2 separate regions of the Homo sapiens genome follow, and region 2 is linked to region 1. Evidence: promoter capture Hi-C in human tissues and cell types (Jung and others, 2019). All regions are on one chromosome and are shown on one strand. The core of a region is centred on a gene start or on the middle of the fragment in contact, and the rest is flanking DNA. Distances in the headings are between cores, read along the strand shown.

The links. The method cuts DNA at HindIII sites, captures the fragments that hold promoters and counts their contacts. A contact is called where the count stands out against the background at its distance.
Region 2: a contact is called between a fragment that was not itself captured here and the fragment with the promoter of STX2 in region 1, in 1 of the 25 tissues and cell types used here (liver).

What each region holds. Positions count from the first base shown.
Region 1 is chr12:130,835,814-130,842,038 of GRCh38, forward strand. It overlaps STX2 (syntaxin 2), which reads right to left and starts at 3,437. Exons shown (of 11, transcript NM_194356.4): 1 at 3,257-3,437. The coding sequence starts at 3,286. RefSeq lists silencers at 3,001-3,060, 3,131-3,640. The HindIII fragment of the contact is 30,414 bases long and covers 1-6,225 here.
Region 2 is chr12:131,453,918-131,460,142 of GRCh38, forward strand. It overlaps a transcript of LOC101929974 not described here. Among named protein-coding and RNA genes, the nearest start is that of LINC02370, 110 kb to the left of the region's middle. RefSeq lists an enhancer at 755-1,260 and a silencer at 837-886. The HindIII fragment of the contact is 5,120 bases long and covers 1,188-6,225 here.

The sequences.
Region 1 (6,225 bases), core at 2,187-4,686:
TTCTATGCCCAAATGACTGGTTGCTCAAAAACAGCATCACTGGTTAGAAACTACATCTGTCAGTACAGATTGTATTGAGCAGATTACTCTTTAAGCCCTGTCCACGTAACTGTCAGAGGCACGTTCTTCACAGGAACAAGCATCAGCAGCTAAGAAAAGAAACTTCATGGAAGCATCACAAATACTTTGTTAATCAGACATTGTTGATGAGGCATTTTAACCAACAAAATATTCAACTTTACCTAGAAAAAAACACCAGCCATTTACAAGCACGGTTGTGAGTACACATTCAACTACTCTAAGAACTACTGGGAAAGGACACATTTCCTGGGGCGGGGCGGGGGAGGGGAATTAAACTTGTATCTGGTAACTTTAAGATGGGTTTTTAAATATTAAAAGTTATTAAACTTCAAATTCAGTTTTAACTTACTATTTTATACTAGGGAGAAGGTTGTTCTTTTCTCTTTTTTTGAGACAGGGTCTCAATCTGTCTGTTGCCCAGGCTGGAGGGCAGTGGCAAAATCTTGGCTCACTGCAACCTCCGCCTCCTGGACTCAAGCAATCTTCCCACCTCAGCCTCCTGAGTAGCTGGAACCACAGGCATGCACCACTACACCTGGCTGAGTTTTTGTATGTTTTTTGTAAAGACAGGGTTTTGCCATGTTGCCCAGGCTGGTCTTGAACTCCTGAGCTCAAATGATCTGCCCACCTCAGCCTCCCAAAGTGCTGGGACTACAAGTGAAAGCCACTGTGCCCAGCCAGAAGGCTGCTTTTTATAACTCCCTAAAAACAAAAAATCTGGTAAACATTAATCACACTTATAATTACATAGCACTTGCTCCCTCCCACCTTCTCCCAGAGCTTCACACATTAGATAATTTTATGCTTCATAACTCCCTCTATGAGGTGGACAAGAGAGATACCACTGTCCCCATTTCACGTACAAGAAAAAGTTTTGAGAGATTTAAAAATTATTTGCCCAAGATGAGAAACTCCATGAGTGGAAACTTCCACGGATATACTCTCTGACTGCTCAGCTGCTGTGTCTAAAGCAGGATGGTATTGAAGTAGATGAGCTGACTTCTAGCTCTGCCGTTCTAGAACAAAACTGATTGACATGTTCTACTGTTTCAGGAAGGGTTTGGATATATAGAAACTGAGTGACAAATAATTGCCTTATTTGCTTTTTGCTATTCAAGCCAAGAAAACGTACTTTCTCACGATTCCCCAACATATAAATTTGGCTGTATTTTGCCAAAATAGTCACAGCTCTCACGTTCAATGACATTGAGCTTTTTTTTTTTTTTTTTATGAGACAATGTCTCACTCTGTCACCCAGGCGGGAGTGCAGTGGCATGGCACAATCATGGCTCACTGCAGCCTCTATCTCCTGGGCTCAAGGAATCCTCCTAGCTTAGCCTCCTGAGTACCAAGGACTACAGGTGCGAGTCACACCTGGATAGTTTTTTTGTGCGTGCTTTGTTTTGTTGGTTTTTCTGAAACAGAGTCTCTTTCTGTTGCCCAGACTGGAGTACAGTGGCACAATCTCGGCTTTCTGCAACCTCCGCCTCCTGGATTCAAGCGATGCTCCTGCCGCAGCCTCCAGAGTAGCTGGGACTACAGGTGTGCGCCATGACATCCGGCTATTTTAGTAGAAACGGGGTTTTGCCATGTTGGCCAGGCTAGTCTCCAACTCCTGACCTCAAGTGGTCCACCCAACTCGGCCTCCCAAAGTGCTGGGATTACAGGCATGAGCCACTGCGACTGGCCTCCTGCTAATTTTTTAATTTTTTTCGAGAAACAGTGTCTCCCTGTGTTGCCCAAGCTGGTCTCCAATACCTGGGCTCAAGTGATGCCCCCACCCTGATCTCCCAGACTGCTGGGATTACAGGAGTGAGCCACAGCTTTTCTTCATTAAATAAATACCTGAGCTCCTACTACACGGCACTGAAAGATAATCCATCGGGCAAGACAACACAACTATAATTTGCTGTGTTTAAGATGATATTGATCTGCGGAACACAGGGAATATTTGTCCATTAATAAAAAAGGAAAAATCACCGTGAAGAAACTTCCTTGGAATGAATATAAAGCATAATTTCCATGATCCTAAGGATGAAATCATTGCCTTTCTCAACCAGAGCTCCTCATCTGAACCACAGAACACAGATAATGATTTAAGTGGCTCTTTTCTCTATTCTCCCACTCGGGGGTACATAACAGCTCCATTCTAGCAGCAGAGGAGAGAGAATAATTCATTACATGCAGTGGGTGTCGTAGGGCTGTGGGCCTTAGCACCCCTGTTCTGAGGCTGCCAACAATTTAGAGACCAGAGGCTCTATCTGTGCACACACGTAGCATGAATTAGTACCTGTATTGTAAAGGGAAAAAGTCATAACTACTTCTGCTGGCCTAAGCCGTCCTGGGTTAGACAAGCTTGGAAAGTGCACGACCATCACTATCATTCCGCTGTCACTGCACCATGCACAGTCCTGTCACCTTTACACGTGTAGAATGCATCGAAATCCTTCCAAAATTTTTAGTGACCTGCTTTTCCCTTGCTAAAGTAAACAGTAACTTGCTGTGTGCCCGGCTGCTGGGCGCGTAAGGTGCGTTCAGAGTCAACACACGGTCCCAGTTTCCAAAGCAAACTACTGGGAGATCAGACACAAGCTGCTGTTCGCGCTCGCCCCACCCCAAGCACCCAGCACTCTAAGGTGCCCACATTTCACACCCATCTGTTGCCTCCCGCTTGGTGCACAGTCCTTTGTGAAGCCCCAGGGATAAAGCAGCGACCAAGAGGACCCGGCCTGCTCCCCGGGGCTGACGCCAGCTGCGGGGACCCCGTGGGGCGGACCACAGTTAGGCCAGTGGGCTCCGGCTGGGTAAGCGCCAGATACAATCCGCCAAGCGGAGTGACGGACAGGGAGCCACGCTCGAAGAGGGGGTCGAGGCCGGGACCTTCCCCGCTCCCTCCTCCTGCCCCAACCCGCCCTGAGGACTCCGCCCAGGAAGCCCTGGGGACCCCGCCCGGAGCCCCCACCCTAGGACTCCCGGGACCCCCGCCCTGGGGACCCCACCAGCAGTCCCCGCTCAGGACTCCCTGAGACCCTGCCCGCAGCCCCCGCCCCAGAACGCCGGAGATCCCCGCCCTGGGGACCCTCCCGGAGCCCCGCCCAAGACGCCCCGAGCCCCCGCCCGCCCTCCAGACGCCGCCCCGGCCGGGCCTGAACCGCTACCCGCGGCTGCCGCTCACCGCCGTCAGGTCTGGCAGCCGGTCCCGCATCCCCGCCGGCCGGGCAGCGCGCCCCGCCGCTCAAGCCTGTCCCGAGCTGCCTCCGGCCGGGCCTCGGGCTCTCCGGTCTCCGCCTCAGGCCCCGCGGTCCCGGCCCGGCGCCAGCAGCCCTCCCTGGAGCCGGCGCTGCCACGGCAACCGCGCCCCGCGCGCTCTGCGCATGCCCGGCCCGCGCCGCGCCCCGCACCCACCCACACGGCGGCAGCGCTTTCCAGCGGGAGCCCGGAGGGGCGGGGCCTGGGGGCGGGGCCTAGGCGGGGAGGGGCGGGGTCCGGCCGAGCCCCAGGCTGGCAGTTCCGCTACACGTGCTGTTTGTCCCTTGATCTGCTTTTATGCTTTCACACTCATTGTTTTATTTATCAAAATATAGAGCATTCAACGAATAGTGACAAAAGAGCAAAGCTCCCGGAATGTGCTGGGTGCAGCTTTGGGTAATACATATGCCGAACCTTCTCTTTAAGGGTCCACGCGCAGCCTCGGGTGTGAATGAAGGAGAAGAGATCGTGTACCACACATGATGCTTACGGAGCATAACACGGCAGGGGGCGGTAACGGGAAGAGCGTCCGCAGGCCCAGCCCTGGGATACCATTCTGGCAGGAGAAACAGGCAATACAGACACAGACAAATAAATGATAGATGAGAAAAGAAAGTAAGGGCATGGGCACGGAACTGGCAGAGAGGTCGTCATGAAGGTGCAGGAGCTTAGGTGAACTACCCAGGTTGGGGGAACAGTCCCCAAGACCATTATCACCTCTGACACCAACGGCAAATTCTGGCGGTTTCCAAAACCACCTTCAAGTTCCATAATTTGCTAGAAGGAATCACAGAATACACTAAAAACTACTGTACTCACAACTATGGTTTCTTAGCAGGAAAATGATACGGATTAACATCAGCCAAGGAAGAAGGGCAGAGGGGGAGTCTGGGGATTACGGCGTGCAGCTTCAAGGTCCTCCCGTGGTCCTCTCCCTGTGTAGTCAGGCCTCATTACTTGCCCTGCACTGATGTGTGGCCTTACACACGAAGTACTGCCAGCCAGGGAAGCTCACTTGAGCCACAGTGTGCAGAACGTTTACTGGGCTCCATTGCATGTGCATGATTGATTGATTGTTTGATTGCTTTCATGCTTGATCTCAGCCTCTTGGTTAAGTGATATCCATGTAACCCTAAGCCCCCACCATAAATCACACTGTTACTCTCTGGCTAGCCGAAGACTCCCAGGCAAACAAAGATTGCCTTCCAGGAGGAGAAGGCAAGGCCAGATTTGTTTTTAAACAAGGTTAAAGTCTTTACTGCCTCCTGGAGGAGGTGGCTTTGGTCTGACCAGAAGGCAGCGCTAAGAAATCTGCTTGAGAGCAACAGGCTACACATTAAAAAACAGGACGTTTTGGACTTGGTTCTAGGTGTGATGTGGTTCTGTTACCCGATGGAAGGTCTTGACAGCCAGTTGTCCAGGTGAGTGTGGTGGCGGGCACCTGTAATCCCAGCTACTCAGGAGGCTGATGCATGAGAATTGCTTGAACCCGGGAGGTGGAGCTTGCAGTGAGCCAAGATCGCACCACTGCACTCCAGCCTGGACAGTAAAGCGAGACTCCGTCTCCAAAAAAAAAAAAAAGATATGTTTTTTCTCTCCATATCCTGAACTTCCCCACCAGAATGCCTCCTGGACCCCGCAACAGGCAAGTGCTTTTCTTTCGGCCTTCTTGCCTCTGCCACCACCATTTTAATTCTCCCTCTCTGGTAAATACTGGGCCCTCCCTCGTTTCTCCCTCTCTCCCAGTGGATTTTTCAAAAACATATGATAATATTGGCAGCAGCTGGATGGTGTTGAATTGGCAACCAAAACTTTTTGTTTGTTTGTTTGTTTGTTTGAGACAGAGTCTTATTCTGTCTCCCAGACTGGAGTGCAGTGGCATGGTCATAGTCCACTGCCGCCTTGAACTCCTGGGCTCAAGTAATCCTCCCACCTCAGCCTCCAAAAGCACAGGGACCACAGACATGAGCCCACCATGCCCAACCTCAAAACTTTCCTTATCCTGCCAGAGAAAAAAAATGAAGTTGTGAATAATCGTTGTGGGAATTCAGGGACCCTGAATGGAGGGACCGGCTGAAGCCATGGAAGAAGAACATAAATTATGAAGATTTCATGGACATTTATTAGTTCCCCAAATTAATACTTTTATAATTTCTTATGCCTGTCTTTACTGTAATCTCTGAACATAAATTGTGAAGATTTCATGGACACTTATCACTTCCCCAGTCAATACCCTTGTGATTTCCTAGGCCTGTCTTTACTTTAATCTCTTAATCCCATCATCTTCGTAAGCTGAGGAGGATGTATGTCGCCTCAGGACCCTGTGATGATTTTGTTAACTGCACAAATTGTTTGTAGAGCATGTGTGTTTGAACAATATGAAATCTGGGCACCTAGAAAAAAGAACAGGATAACAGCAATGTTCAGGGAACAAGAGAGATAACCTTAAACTCTGACTGCCGGTGAGCCAGGCGGAACAGAGCCGTATTTCTCTTCTTTCAAAAGCAAATGGGAGAAATATTGCTGAATTCTTTTTCTCAGCAAGGAACATCCCTGAGAAAGAGAAAGCATCCCTGAGGGTAGGCCTCTGAAATGGCCGCTTTGGGGGTGGCTGGGCATGGTGGCATGTGCCTGTAGACTACTCAGGAGGCTGAGGCAGGAGGATTGCTTGAGCCCAGGAGGTTAAGGCTGAAGTGAGCTGTGACTGTGCCACTGCACTCCAGCCTGGGCAACAGAGTGAGACCCTGTCTAAAAAAATATATATATACACATACACACATGCACTATAAATATATAGTATATACATACTATACACACACATATAGTGTATACATGCTATATACACACATATAGTACATACAAGCTATATGTATATACAGATCGCAGCTGTAGGGA
Region 2 (6,225 bases), core at 2,498-4,997, 620 kb after region 1:
TCAGAACTTTTGTTTCTTCATCTGCAAAAGAAGGTCATTGTGATGATGTATTTTATGTAAAACACATAGCACAGAATATAACACATAGTAAGTCCTTAATAAATATTAAGCAAAAGAGGGAAAGATATTCTAACTTTATCCATAACTATCTCTGAATGTTTATAAACAGAGTCCCTAGGGAAATACAAGTGCTGCCTGAATATCTGTGTTTAAGTGTAAACCCATCTAAATAAAATCAATTAAACTGGAAGCAATATTTCATAAGGAAAAGACTAGAGGTTACAGCTCTTAGCCTGCCTGCTATTAACCATCTTTGGGATCTTACTTAATATAGGACTTCATCATCACGATGCAGTTTAAGAGACTGCTTCCTGAACTGTCTATTCCAGACTTATGCTGTGTCCTGGGGAGGTAAGAGGGCTTATACATTGCCCCTGCCCCAACTTCACTAGATCAAGATTTTTCTCACTGATGAAATGCATAGGTGGAAGGTGAGAAAGGTTTTACTAAGCTGATTTAAATTATTTTGATTTTAAAATTAAAATTATTGTGATTTTTATCATTTAATTATTTTGCCAGATGCATCTATTGGGTATTAATGTAATGAATCACAGTTAAAAGTTTTCCCAATTATCAAAAATAAATAAATAAATAAATAAATAAATAAATAAATAAATAAATAAAACAAAGAGCATTTGCAGTGAGAATGGGCTGCAGTAGGGTGAGCACTGATGGGAATTGAAGTCCACAAGCTGGCAGGTGGGGCCCTCGTCCCCGGGGCACATGGCATAGGGAAGCAGGAGAGGCGCCCAGGCCTTGTGGGCCTGAGGTTTATGTGACTGGGAGGGTGTTCCTGGGGAAGACACTACAAAATCACACAGAGTTGCAAGGGACCCTCTCACACTCTGCAGAGGCCCATGTGACACGGCAGGGACAGGAACTGCAAGCAGCTCCACTGCAGGAGCACCTGCCCCCCTTGTGGCCATGCAGGGCATACACAGCCCGGCCATGCAGCAGCTCCCAGCCACTCCTCACATGCCCACAGCAACTATCGCCTAAGGAAGAGACGTCTCCCGACCACAGTCACCAGGCCACACGCTCCCTCCAATGGCTCCCTTCCTTTCTGGGTCAAAGCCTGACACTCCCTGGCTCCTGCCCCCACCCCTGCCTCAACATCTGTGCCCAGCCCCACAGCTCCATCTGCTCCTTAAACCCCCGAGCTCCTTACCTGGACATCAATGTGGTGGGGAAGGCCAGCGAGGAGCCTTAGAGGACGTGACTTTTAAGCAGAATCCTTAAGAAAGAGTGGAACGTGGCCAGGTAGAAATCTGACGGAAGTGTCCAGCAAAGGCAGGCCCGAGTCCCAGGATCCCCGACGGTTAGGAGCTTGGTTGGCTGAGGACAGGTGTGGGCAGCTCCTGCTGAGGCAGGAGAGGTAGGCAGCGCCAGGCAGTCAGGGCCTATTAGGACGAGGACTCACCCAGCCTGAGGAGACTCTGAGGAAACGCGTGATGCAGACAGACTTAAAACTGTAAGAGGCCCCATGGCTGCTCTGGACAGGGAGGGTTGGCGGGACAAAGGCAGGTGGAGGCGCCACGGAGTCTGTTCATGGGGGTTCAGGAGAGAGTGATGAGGGTGGGCTGGCACCGAGGGGGCTCCTCCAAGGGAGGGTTATGAGAAATTCCCTTGGGGCCAAAGGGGATTGACATGTGGTCATGGGAAGGGCAGCCCGGAGACTCCCTCCTGAATAGTCACCAAGGTCCAGTTCCCTTGTGCATGGCGGAACCCAGGCCTGTGGGCGGCTCTTCCACCCCATGGGGTGGGGGCACAGGACAGGGAGGAAGCACTTTGGGGACCCCTCAGAGCCCCGGTTCAGCGAACCTCAGGAGCCCGCGCAACCCACAGCCCATTCTGGAAATGGTGGTATCCCACCCAGGGGCCCAGTGGGGAGGGGAGGTGGGCCAGGCTTTCCACTGTGCTCTCCTTGTCATCTGCAGCTGAGACTCCAGCCCAGCTCACTCCTGTGTCTTCTCGTCCTAATCTCTGACATGAGTACAGTAGGACTCACCCGACAGCAGGTGCTCTCAGATCCCTGCCCATTTCTGGCCAAAAGAGCCTTCAGGACAGCCCGGCAGTGCCAGGAATCGGGAAGCTCATGGGGACCGCAAGGTCTGGAGATGGGAGGGCAGGGGAATGTGTGTGTGTATGTGTGTCTGTGTGTCTGTGTACGTGTGTGTGTGTGTCTGTGTATGTATGTGTGTGCATATGTATGTGTATGTGTGTGTATATGTGTGTGTGTGTGTCCTTCCTGGAGCTTCTTAGTGTACCTGCAAATGCCTCCAAGAGCAACCCACGTGCCTGTCCTGGGCCTGTGGCCCTGATGCCCTTTCATCCATGCCCCGCCCTTCCTGATCTGCTGGGAATTTGTGGGGGTTGGGGGCTGATCTGCTGCGAATTTGTAGAGTTGGGCTTCCCACACCCCTGGTCAGCTAGCCTCAGGCTGAGCTCAGACAGTGAGAGGCCCTGGTGGGTGATGGGGGGCGGGGAGGAGCCAGGCTATTCCCCATCCTTCTCTGCCTCAAGCGCCTCGGGCAGCTGCCTGTCTTCCCTGCCAGCTCCACGTCTCAGGGGTCCTGGGGCCACCACACACTGCGTGATTAGAGAGTGGACTCCATGGCTTATTACAGAGAAAGGCCACGTAGCAAGATCAGCAGGGGAGAAAGACCCAGGGGAGTCCACCAAACACGCGTCTTGCTCCAGCAACCAAGTCAGCAACACATCCAGAGTGTCGCTTCCCAGGGAGGCCGTGTAGGTCTCCGAGTGCGGGGCTTCTACAGGGGGCTGGTCACATAGGCACCCTCTGCCTGTGCAGCCACTGTGGTGACAGAAGTCAGGCGTGCGCTGATCACACTGCAGAGTCCAGGCAGCTGGTAGGGAACGGCTTAGTTCCCTGAGTGCACAAACGACCTGGTCAACCAGTCACTCAGGAAACGTTCCAAAAGCCAAGTTCCCGGATGCTGGCTGGGGATCACCCGGATGCTGGCTGGGGATTACCCGGATGCTGGCTGGGGATCACCCGGATGCTGGCTGGGGATCACCCGGATGCTGGCTGGGGCTCATCGCTGCACACGGGCCTCCATGAACACGCGTCAGAATCAGGCAGCCTCCGGCCTGCTGCGCACGTCGTTCCTGCACACCGAGGCTGCTGTGGGTCCAGCTTCCCCAGAGACCCCAGCCCTGGGCTCCGCCAGCACCACCCACCCCGCTCCAGCCCAGGGATGGAGCCGCCGCCTTCTCTCCTGGCCTCTGAGTTGCCTCCCAGCCCCCATCTGACTTCTCAGCTCTCCCGTCCCCTCCGTAACCCACTCCCTGCCTCAGTCTCCTGTGTGGTAAATACACGAGTTCTCCAGTGAGGCCCCAACTGCTGCATCCTTGGATTAATTTAAGGATCCAAGGACAGAGGCCAGAGAAGCCTGCATGGACCTGGGTATCAGACGCAGAAGTAATGGAGCATTAGTCACCTTAGTCACCACGTTCTCAGTCAGCGAGGTCAGGTGCACGTCCAGACCTGATGGACGCTCCTTCACAGGGACCTCCGGTGCGCAAACAGGACTCCATGGAGAGCAGCTCGGGGGCAAGGACAGGCTTCTCTAAAGCATGGTGAGGCACCACTGTCACTGAGGATGCACGGTCCTCTCCTTGCCCTGGAAGCAGAGAACGGGAATGTGCAGCCACAGTGAGTGTGCGACCAACCCCAGGCCAGCTCAGTCCCCTTACTTAAGTCCCTGAACAGCGGAGCCCTGACTGCCTCCAGCCAGGTTCTCCATCCACAGCCCCAGTATTTGGGTCTTGGAGCAGTGCTGACAGCCAAGATGGTGAGGGGGTAGCAGGAAGCTAGATGCGGAGCAGGCATTTCCCAGCCTGGCAGAACCATGGAGAGACCCCCCCCCGGCCCCCACCGCCGCCACCAAGGGCAAAGTCAGAGCAGGACACAGTGGGTCGGGGTGGGGTTCCCAGGGTCCTGACCCTGAGGCAGCAGGACCCCAGGCACAGGCAGGACCCCACCTCCCCCCCTCCACCTGTAGGCTCCTCCTTTCTCCAGACGCCCCTCAGCAAGGAAGAGCGGACCCAGACCGGTGGGTGCTATTTGCTCCAGACTCCCCAGCGCCTATGCGGCTGAACCCTAAGGATTCCCACGCGGCTCCAGAGGGACGTTTCCAAACACACGCCCAAGTCCTCCAGAAGGTGACTTGAAGATAAAAGTCCTAAATGAATGCAGAGCAGTTTCAACACATGAGTTCACATACATGCTCCCAACTGTTTCTAAATGTTAGGGGAAATCCCAACCTTTGTCTTTGAAAAACACCAGAGTGTCTTGTTTGTGATTTTAAAACACTCAAAGACAAATTGCCAGTTTGCCGTGTGTATTTCAAATCTACTTTCCGTTTATTTAATTTCTTGGCTTCTTTAACTTGAAGCTTCCCACCAGGGCTCCAAACCTCTTTCTTACTATCGAACAGTGTGACTACCCAGGCTGCTGAAGGCACCGCTTGTCATCTATCTAGAAATTACCTTCTCTGCATGTTGCCTGGAACTGTGGAGGGTTCACCATTATAAATTATAGTTCAAATTACAAAACAGGGCCCCTATTGATGATTTCAGGTTCTAAGTGTGTAATTATGGTGCTTTTGCTAATGACATAATGAAGAGAGGTGATTATGTCATTAAAATGTGATGTTTTTTATATCCCGAAGAAGCTGCCTATGTGTCGTAATGAACGTCCTGGGTATGGGGTCAGAGTGGGCTCTCCCTCGAGGACCCTGAGGCCGTCCTACAGGGAAGAGTGGGGTTTTGTCCAGTGAAGTATTTGCTAGTCACAGGCTGCGCTGCTTAGTCCTGAGAACGAGACACTTTCAGAGTTAATGCCACAAATATTGTTCTTCGGCTCAGTAATGTTAGGACGAAACAAACCCTTGTTATTCTAATTGTTTGAATTATCCAGTTGAGATCCTGGGCAGTCTTGTCCTGTTTAATGACTGACAATTAGGCTTCAATGGCGTTCACGTTGACGGGTGCTGGATCGCCCGGCTTGGGGCGTCTCACGTGGCTTCAGCCCTGCCCTCCCTGCGGATCTGGCTCTGGTACCCACCGCGCTGAAGGAGGGAGCGTGGGAACACGTGAGCCTCTCTGCACAGGGAGGTCCCAGGACTGACACCGACACGGAATCTCCTCACCTTCCACGGGTCCCTCGGGTCCCCAAATCCAAACTCACGCCGGGAAGTACCTCAACGCACTTCCGCCCTGGCCCAGGCTGGACAAAGCCCAGGTGCTGCTGAGCTGGAAACTCGCTCTTCAATGAGGTTCATCTTTTTCCGCGCCAATGACATCTTTATGGGGGAGGCATTCAGTTATGCGCCCGAGGCTCAGCACCTCATGTGCAGTTGTGGGTCTGAGTCCTGGATAGAAGCTGGTGGAGGGTCTGGGGGTTTTGTTCACCCCACACTGAAGGGCCCCGAGCACCTTCTCACCCACCCACCCACGGGGGTGTCATGAGTCCAGCCACAGGCCTGCCTGTGACTCCCAACAGTTTCAGAAGGAAATGAAATTTCAGGAGATTCAAGCAGTGATGGTGGGTGTATTCCACATTTCCTCCTTTTTTAACACAATGAAAATGTAATTATCCTCCCTTACAAGAACTCCCAGCCACTTGAAGGACTGTCAGCCCAGCTGCGCTGTGACGGTCACATATTCTTGTTTGCCTGTGCCTTTTCACTGTTTTCACAGAAGGAAGCCGAGTTTGAGCTAGTTCCATTTCACCATCAAAGGCAGGGCATGAGGAGCGATGGGGAGAGAAACGTGGATGCGAAGAGGCGCCTGCCGCCTGTGTTCTCACAAAGCCACAGAGCATGGACCTGCTCCCCCTACCCCCCAGCGCTACCCTGGCCTGGGTAGGTGACCGCAGTCTGGAGGAGGGGATGGGGACAAGGGAAAGCGGGGCGGGGATCTGACCCAGGAGCAGCAAAGAGCAGGTCCTGACAATTCCCTGATTAACCGGCGTGCAGCTAGACAGGGCAGGTCTCCATGGAGAAATACACGTGGCTTATTTAATTAATCCTGAAAAGTAAGTTCCCCTGGCCTTGCCCCAAATCGGAGTCCCCCTTTTAACGATGAGAATAGATCATTGAATCAGATTTCATGAAGTCTGCTCAGATTTTTCTTATTGAA